2 separate regions of the Homo sapiens genome follow, and region 2 is linked to region 1. Evidence: promoter capture Hi-C in human tissues and cell types (Jung and others, 2019). All regions are on one chromosome and are shown on one strand. Each heading gives the region's core, a stretch centred on a gene start or on the middle of the fragment in contact. The rest is flanking DNA. Distances are from core to core; before and after follow the strand shown.

Region 1 (4,810 bases), core at 27-2,526:
TGAGAGCATCGGGCTTCACCTTGAGCCTCCAAAGGGTTGGGGGCAGGGCCGAAAAGAAACAGAGCTGCACTCAACTTAGCTTTAAAAAGAGGAGGAGTTGTGCAGAGGGGGAGGGGAGAAGGCGGCCGGCGCCTGCAGCCTCTGCCCAGGAAAACGGAGGGCAGGAAACGTCTCCAGCCCCCCTCCCCAACTGTCAAATCCTAGCCCGGCCGTGGTACTCCCAGGACACGTGTCTACTGGATCTCTCCCTGTCCGGCCCAAGGACTTCCTGAAACCCCCGCCTCCGGCTGCCCGAAAAAACCGTGAGTCAGTTCGGAGGAGAGAAAGCTCCAGGAACCCGACTCTGGCGGCAGCAGCCAGAGCGCTGGGATCCCGGACCCAGCGTCCAGAACTTCATTCAAGCGCCCAGACCGCCCTCCAGAAAGGGGAAGCCCAGATGGCCCGGCGAGGATGGGAACTGGCTGCGGTTTGTCACTAGGAATTGTTACGAATGTCGCAGACTGGTGAAGCCCTAGGTGTGACAAGACTGGGCTCCCGGAGTGGGAGTCGTAACCTCCCGTGCAACTCAACCCTCTACCCCCAAAAGCCCGCACGCTGCGCCCAGCCCTCAAAACACCGTTTCTGAACGCAAAAGATAACAGGGAAGGGTGGGAGGAGAAGGAGGAAAGAGAGGAGGGTAGAGAGGGGAGGAACTTTTCGGGAAAAGGTTGGGTTTGAGTTTTTTTTTATTGTTATTATTTTCCACTTACTTGTCCATCAGCTGAAGTCCTAACCTCTACCAGAGCGGCTGCTATCAACCAAAGTGACAGGAGAACCATCACGAGTCGAGTTCACTTTCCAACTACTGGGCAAAGCAAATGCCCAGAGCAAACCCACCCCCCCCGCCCAAAATAAGTTTCTTTAAGAAAAAAAGGAAAAGGGAAAAAATGCGAAATAGAAAAAAATGATCTTCTGTGCTTTGCTTCAATGAAAATGAAATTTGAGCTCTGAGACTGGCCCCCTCTGCTCTGCAGTTTTTTCCACTTCACCTTCTCACCCCGTCCTCCCAACACAGAGTGTGCAGGAGCGAGAAGGTGCTGTAAGCGGGCACAGGCTAAGCCTGGGAGAGGGGGAAGGGACGAGGGGCTTTCCAACTATCTCTGCCCAAAGCAGCTTTTTCGAGGCTTTTCGAGCACCATTGGTCCCTAAGGTTAGCGCGGAGAATGCTTGGGTTCCCCGGAGCACAGCAGGGGGAAGTATTAGCGAGAGAGACGAGCGAGCGGGAGCGGGAGAAAGAGGCAGGGAGAGGGCGACTCCGCCGCACACGCAGAGGTGGGGGCGGGAGGAGCGAAGGGGAGGAGGAGAAGGCAGGCGGAGGAGGTGGGAGGAGTGGGCCGCTCGCCGGCTCCTGTTGCTCGCAGCGCGGCAGTCTGCTGGCTGCTGGCGACCCGCGGGGCGCTAATAAGGCGTCCGGAGCTCCCCGGACTGCCCCTCCCGCCGTGGCGCCCACGTCATGCGGGGCCCGAACCCGCGCCCCCCGCACCGTGTCAGGATTGGAGACCGCTCGGGGGCTGGTGTGGCCCGGGCTCGACCTCCCACCCTGGAGCCTCTCCTTCTCCGCCTAGGGCGAGAGGAGGGGAGGGTCCAGGGGCGCCACCGGTCCCGACTGGCGGGACGCGCGTTGAGTTAATTATAGGAAGGGGGAGGGTCCGAGGGCTGGTCCTGGGCTGTAGGAAATTCACCTCCTCCAACCTCCACTGTTCTCCCAGCCAGAGAATTCTCCCCGAAGAGAAGCCCTGGAACCTCCAGATCTTAACCACGCGGTGATCTCCCTTCCAGGCACCAGTCACCTCCCACGTTTTGGCAGGGGGTGTCCTTCTTTGTAAGCTCTTGTTTAGGCTTTATTCGTTTATATTAGTTTTAAAAGATACCACGTCCTTTCCTTGACTCACCCGGATGCTTCCGTTTATCACTAGAGTACACAGGCCTCAGCGACTCTTCCTCACACCCAGATTAAGTTATCAAATGATTTCTGCCCGCTGTGGCCTGGCGCTTCCTGAGGGGAAATGACACCAACCTGAGAGTTTGCTGGAATCCTAGCCCAGGCCCACCTCCCAGGCGTAGACACCTGTGGGTGCTTTCCAGAAAGCAGACAGGAGGAAAAGGAAATAGCTCCAACCTCCACTGACCGGTCCACGAGCCAGGAGTGAGTAGACACAAATTTAGATACGAACTTCAAGACTTCAACTGGACAGTCTTGAAGAGGCCTGCCCACAATAAAACGAGCTAGTGTTTATCTTGTTATGAGATGCAAGATAAGTCATAGTTCTTGTTCTTTTTTAAAAGCAATGTGAGTTTGGAGGGTTTCCTATAACTTCGATTCATTGTTTATTCCTGGAGAGGTAACGTGATGGTTGTGCCTTTAACTTAAGCATGGAAAGATTTGGTGTTCACTGATGTTTTATCTGCTAAGTCTTCTCAAAATCATATATCGAGGACATTTACATATACAAATGAGAAACTAGGTAACTAAATGGCCCCACCTAGTAAAACAGGATATTAGGTCAATTAGTTATTAATTGGAATTAGAATTAGACCCCAGCACTGAAGTATCTCTAAATTACTTTTTTCCTTCAATTAAAGCCTGTAGCATTTTTGTAACTTGTCATTAACTAGCTATCCAGGAGTGATTTGCTACATTTTACACCGAGTTTGTCTATTCATTAAAAAGAAGTAACCCTAAGCATTCCATAAATGAAAAATCTGTCAATTTACACTGACAAGTAAAAGAACACTAGAGATACACATTAGGAGATCTAGGTTCTAGACCCAGCTAACAGCTGTCTTACCTTGACAAGTCAGAATAAACCTCTATTTTGGTTTCTCCTCTATGAGATATTTGAGATCTAAAATCATCTGATTTTAGGTAATAACAAATAATGTATTTAACCATGTTATTACAGTAGGCCCTTTTGTGTTAATTTTACAACATTCAGACATTAGTTATCACCTAACTCCCGGCATAGCAAGCAATTCATGTGACTTTCAGGAAAGCAGCGGCTTCAGACATTTTTGGCCATCACCACAGAGAGAAATGCATATTGCATAGCGACCCAGTAAAAATTTCATGATTCAGTACTTACCTGTACTGCATGCAACAACCCTGATATTTTTCTTGCCATTCTTTCCCTGCAACCCCAATTGCAGATGAGCACTCAATTGATTTCACAACCCAGCAAGTCATGACTCTCACTTTGACAAAGATCAGTTTAAGAGCATGCAATAGGGTTTTTTTTTAATTCTAAATGAGTTCTAATTAATAGGGTTCTCCTAATATATTCTAAGGCAGAGTTTCCCAAAGTATTCCCTGGAATATTAAATGTTTTACCAGGAAAAGGAAAATTCTCAGACAGCCAACTGAGCTCATGAAATACTTAGATAAATGAAACAAAATGGCTCTCCTTATTTCAGACTTCAGGGTACCTATTTAAACAAACACATTTGTAGTCCCAGCTACTCCAGAGGCTGAGGCAGAAGAATCGCTTGACCCCAGGAGGCGGAGGTTGCAGTGAGACGAGATTGTGTCACTGTACTCCAGCCTGGGCGATAAAGCGAGACTCCGTCTGAAAAAAAAAAAAAAAAAAAAATTGTGAGTCTTCAAGGGGGAGATGTAGTGCAATTTGGTCTCCTTACTTACATGACCATAGAATCCTTTTTTCTCATGCTTTATCCTCTGTGGAACACACATGGGTAAATGACATTACAAAGCCCAACTATTAAAGCAAAATGAACTTCAAGTTAGATAGGTTGGATTCTCATGAGGATTCAGCTTCAGTTTTCTCAACTCTAATATCGGTTTCATAGTACTACTTTTGCAAACTCTTCATGAAAATTAACATGATCTTACATGTAAACTCTAGCACATTGTCTAGAATATGTAAAGGCTTCAGTGTAATTTTTTGAATAAAACTGATGGCATATGTACAGATGGCTCATTGGTAATAAAATATGGCAAGGTCTAAAGAAAATAGGAAAATGTAAATAGCTAAAACGTGATTGACTTTTAATTTTGCCAGAGAGGATGTTAGGAGTCAGAGACAGAGTCATTTGAGTTCCTTTCAAAAACTGACCCCTACCAGCCTGCCTTATGTCAAATCCCTTCCCTTACTCCATGTTTCTTTGGCTCAGGCTACAGTGTTGTTTTCCACACACCCTCAAGTTCACATTCTTGCTCATAGTGATTTCTCAGTCCATAGCACCCTTCCTCTTCCTGTCCACATGGCAAAGAGCATCATATTACAGGAGGTGCTAATAGGTACTCCACAAAAGTACTTACACTAATGCTTGTAGTATGTTTTCTTTCAAAATATGTTTTAAGCATATAATTTCAAAAGTAGCCATATATATTTAGTCTCCCTAATTGAAAATCATCTCCTTTAAAATAAGTTTCATGAAATTGGTTGACACATCAACATTTTAACCTGTGCATCCTCATATTGGCAGCAATTAAGTAAGTAGAGAGTTGTGGGGGTTTTTCTGTTGGAGGCTGACTGGTCAATGTCATAATTTGACAACATTTTGATACCCAATATTTATTGTGTATTAAGCCAATGAATAAAATTTTTGTCATTTCTTGCAGCAAATAGTTAATTATAAATTCATTTATTAGGTTTATTTTTTTGGGGGGGTTCCTTTTAGTTGTTTACCTTTCCCATACTTTTAATATAACTAACAACCTTCTGTCAATATTTATTAGATACATTACAGTTTTTACATTTACAATTTTTAATTTCTTCCCATGGTCAAATAAATTTGGGAATTCTGCGGTCAA
Region 2 (4,406 bases), core at 170-2,669, 83 kb before region 1:
AAAAACATATTTTTCCATTATCATTTATAAACCAACAACTACATTTACCCTTTCAAAACTTGGGATCCTGACCATCTATGTCTTACTCAAATATTCCCTTAGTACAGCATACTTAAAGCAGGGTAAAAAAAGACCAAAAGGCAGATAAGTGTGTCTGAACCTCATTAAGGCACAAATGGAGTTGTATTTGATTCACTGTACTTGAGCTACATTCCTACACCAGACCAAAGATGAAGCCAGGAAAATTCAGTTCCCTTGATTTATATACTCACCTTAGCAAAAGTGGGAGTGGATCTCACAGGCTACTCACAGCAAATCTGCAGTGCTCTCATTTGTCATATAGGACAAACTAGAAACTCCCATGGATGGTGAGGATAGGCAGCATGGCGGAAGTGTGCAGAGTGGTGGTGAGGGTGGCTGCTATTGCAGCATATAGCCTACCTTAAAGGTAGATACCTGAAAGATACTCAGGTAACAAGGAAAAAGTCCAATTCTGGTTGTAGATCACTCTTGGGAATAGATTTTTTAAAGTATAAGACCCCCAAAATGCCAGAGTATAAACGACCCTCCCTTTCAATCATGTATCCTTGTTTTTCCTATTTCCCACATTATAAATATCAAAGACCTGAGCATTTACATCAGATTGGTGTGCTCAAAACTTCTTGAAAATGGTGTGTAAAATGTCAGTAAGATGAAATGGGTTGTAAAATGTCAGTAAGATGAAATGGGTTAAAAAGAGAAATGCAGCATATTATACTTCTGATTATTTCTGCAGCCACAAGGTTTTCATTAAGCTTCAAGCATGTGGGTTTGTGATTATGTTCATGACAACAAACACTAAAACATGGAACAAGATCCGTAGTTCAAAGAAATGAAATATTCCAGAATTTATCCACATATTCCAATATACTGTTTTTGTGTATTTTGTTTCCAACTCAAGAGGTTTCTTGAAACCTCTACAAAAATGTTAATCTTAGTGATTCATTCACAAAGGGTTTAAGCTAAAATTTTTGTAGTTTAGACTGGAGTTCAATTGTCAAGTAATGATTTTAGAAGTGATATAAATTTTTAAAATTTTGATCAGATCATAGAGAATAGATAAACATGTCTATTCTAATGCAAAATTTTAGCTACGTTTCCTGCATTATCTTCCAGGCTTAATTATGTATGTTCTGGTTTAACAGGTTATTTTTTTTTTAAAGATCATTGGAAAAATATGTTCACAATAAAATCATTCAAGAAATATATTTCTACCAGTACTCTTGTTTCCTAACTTCCTATTTTTTAAGTTCCCTTAATTTTCAAAACACAAACTTTTCTTTTCTCTCCTGAGTTATATTTGCTGCTCCTAACCATACTTACATTGTTCAATGCCTTCTAAATATAACAACTGCTATGGTCTGAATGTTAGCATCCCCCTCAAAATTCATACGTTGAAACCTAACCCTTACGGTAATGAAATTAAGAGGGGGGGCCTTTGGGAGGTAATAAGGTCATGAGGGCTTTGCCCTCATAAATGAGATTAGTGCCCTTATAAAAGAGGCTTGACAGAGCCTGTTTGCCCCTTCCACCATGTGAGGATGTAGCAAACAAGTGCTATCTTTGAAGCAGAGACTGGGCCCTCACTGGACACTGAAACTGCTGGTACCTTGATCTTGGATTTCCTAGCATCCAGAATTGTGAGCAATAAATTTCTGTTGTTTAGAAATTACCCATTCTTACATGTTTCCATATAGCAGCCCAAATAGACTAAGATGATACCTAGTACGTGCCTTCATGCAAGAACTGTATATAGTAGTAGACTTACATGTTATCTTAGTTAAACCAGACTGAAAAACTTCTGTAGTAAATATCATTTCTGTTTTATAAATGAGGAAACTAAGATCTACATAAATCAATTAAACTTGCCCAACTTAACAAAGTTTCTAGATGGCACAGCCAAGCTTTATCCAGTTCTAATGTACTCCAACACCCAAAATGTATTTTCATCATTGTAGTAAGTACTGAGGCCACCTTGGTTGAACAACCACATTTGGATATTCATATACTTTACTCATATTTCTGCTCAGTCTTGTACAGAGAGGCCTATCTGGCTCCTACTTAAAAAATAAAATTATTTGAATCATAGGTTCTATGTCTATTTCACAAAGAAAACTGAGAACCTAGCCCTCCATCAGGCCTCTGAAGCAAGAGCCCTCCGTCATTAATAAATCCAGGGCTTTGGATGGATTCTATTTTTAGAGTGCTTGAAAAGATCCAAATGCTAGAAAAATCAAATTTTCAAATAGGCAGGTTTCTGATAATAAAAGATTGAATCAAATATGAAAGAAAAAAATAATTCTTTCCCAAAACAGACTGCATGACCAGATGGAAGAAAGAGTTTAAGAACAAAAAGTGCCAAGTACTTAATTCAAGTGAAGAATACAGGCATTCGAGGGTCAATGCACTACTTAGAACAGCCAGAGTGCCAGCATGGACAGAATACTGCACCTTCATTCTCTGATGCTTTTCACTCATCTGCTCTATCACTTCCTTATTCCCCCTCTAATGTCATTAGTTTAAAAAGGTAGAAGGGCAAAATATAGCAAATAATAAATGCTCAGTTAACTGTAGATTGTTCATTGGATTTCATGAAAACTATGCACATCCTTATCTGAATTTAATAACTTATTTTAAGGATGATCACCTCTCCAGTCATCACTTTTACTTTACAGAAGAGAAGAAAAAATATTCTGAGAGGTTAAAATATTCCCAAAGTCACAAGAAGTGAGGCATAGTGACCACTGTATGCCAAAGGTTGTTGTAGAAGATTTACATTCTCTATAAAAGGTATGTCAACTCTTAGATCATTAAATCTTTTTCACAGAAAACATGACTCATTGTGATTATTCACATTAATAAAATTATATTGGCTCAATGTTCAGGAAAACAAATAAGTAGAAGACAAAGGTAGGAGAAAAAGCTAACATGGATATTAAGAAGGAAAAAAGGATGCATGTGCTAAAATAGGTCTTCAAAAAATTTGCAGCAAGTATTCTGACTCCATCACAAGAATCTATGATCTTCTTAAGAGGTGGCTTGGAGCCAAGAAAAATTCACTAGATGAGAGTGAAGGAGTCAAAGAACCAATCAGCAAAACAAAATTTCAATAGCTAATGCTAAGTAAAACAGATGCCCATCTCTGTCTGCCCTGTCCCTCACCATACATGGGCAATCAGTTATACCACTCTGTAACCATTACCTTTGGTTCCAGATTTACCATGAGCATGCAGTCTTATATCGGTTAGTGACAAAAACGCTTTCCATCTCTTATTAACAATACTTTCTGCTACATATTCAGTCTTGTATTCATTCCCTTTACATATATGTAAAAATTAGCATGTGAGTAAAAATCAGGTTCTATATGCTGACAAGCACAATACTGAATGAACCTGGTATATACAATTAATAAAGAGATGGCAACAAAAAGGGAGTAGCTATGATCAAATACAATCATTCTCTCTACACTGCTAGAAGAGTTTAATAATCCATATAAACATTATAATCAAAAAGAATTCTGATGCATTTATAAGGCTTGACTTAAGAGAAAAAATAGCTCTTCCTAAGAGAAAAAATAGCCCTTTTCTTATTCATTTTCTTGGCCATGTTTGAAATGGAGAAAGAAAAAAATAAATAAATGCCCAAATATTGTGCACTTTGGTTATGAGTCCATAAATTTCTATGCATATTATTCAAGCCAGAAAAGTTACACAATCAAGTCTTTTTTTATTTTTAACTTAGTGATTAGGAGTGATTAACCATGATCCTGTTGAGTTGCAAACGTGGCAATGTAAAGGCCTTTATCCCCTATGCTTTGTGGTCTTGATTTAATAGTGTTGTGTATTCAATATATTTAATATACAGGAGCTGCCTTTTCCTGGTTGGTAATTAATGTCCCTTGGACCCTGAAATTGCTCAGAACAGGGACTTCTCTGTGGAGACTATATTCCAGATTACACTGCTATTTTTACTTTATAGGTTCTTGAATTTTAAGGATTTATTTCTAGATTGTACAGGTTCACATTTTGCATCAAGGTTACTAGTCAGATAGCTTACTCTTCTGATAACAAATTCCATCTCTGTGAAATACTGGCATTTGTCATGCTATCAGTTTTTGAAATGTTTTGGTAGTGCCTGAGATGATCCATTGCTCATCACTTCCACCACTTCTAACCTAATCCAACCTACAGCCATATCTCAAATGTGATCATCTCCTGCTCTCTAGTTGATTCACATTTTAGGCAGGGTAATCTTTTTCAAGATAGATTACTTTATTCAAGATTTACTATTTATAATTGACAAATATTACATATATATTTAAGGCATAAAATTTAATGATTTGATAGACATATATATTTATGAAATAA

The links. The method cuts DNA at HindIII sites, captures the fragments that hold promoters and counts their contacts. A contact is called where the count stands out against the background at its distance.
Region 2: a contact is called between a fragment that was not itself captured here and the fragment with the promoter of ADAMTS3 in region 1, in 2 of the 25 tissues and cell types used here (dorsolateral prefrontal cortex and mesendoderm cells).

The regions. Positions count from the first base shown.
Region 1 is chr4:72,567,945-72,572,754 of GRCh38, forward strand. It overlaps ADAMTS3 (ADAM metallopeptidase with thrombospondin type 1 motif 3), which reads right to left and starts at 1,277. Exons shown (of 22, transcript NM_014243.3): 1 at 750-1,277. The coding sequence starts at 818. The HindIII fragment of the contact is 11,291 bases long and covers 1-4,810 here.
Region 2 is chr4:72,484,323-72,488,728 of GRCh38, forward strand. All of the region lies in intron 3 of ADAMTS3 (ADAM metallopeptidase with thrombospondin type 1 motif 3), which reads right to left. Among named protein-coding and RNA genes, the nearest start is that of ADAMTS3, 83 kb to the right of the region's middle. The HindIII fragment of the contact is 5,223 bases long and covers 1-4,031 here.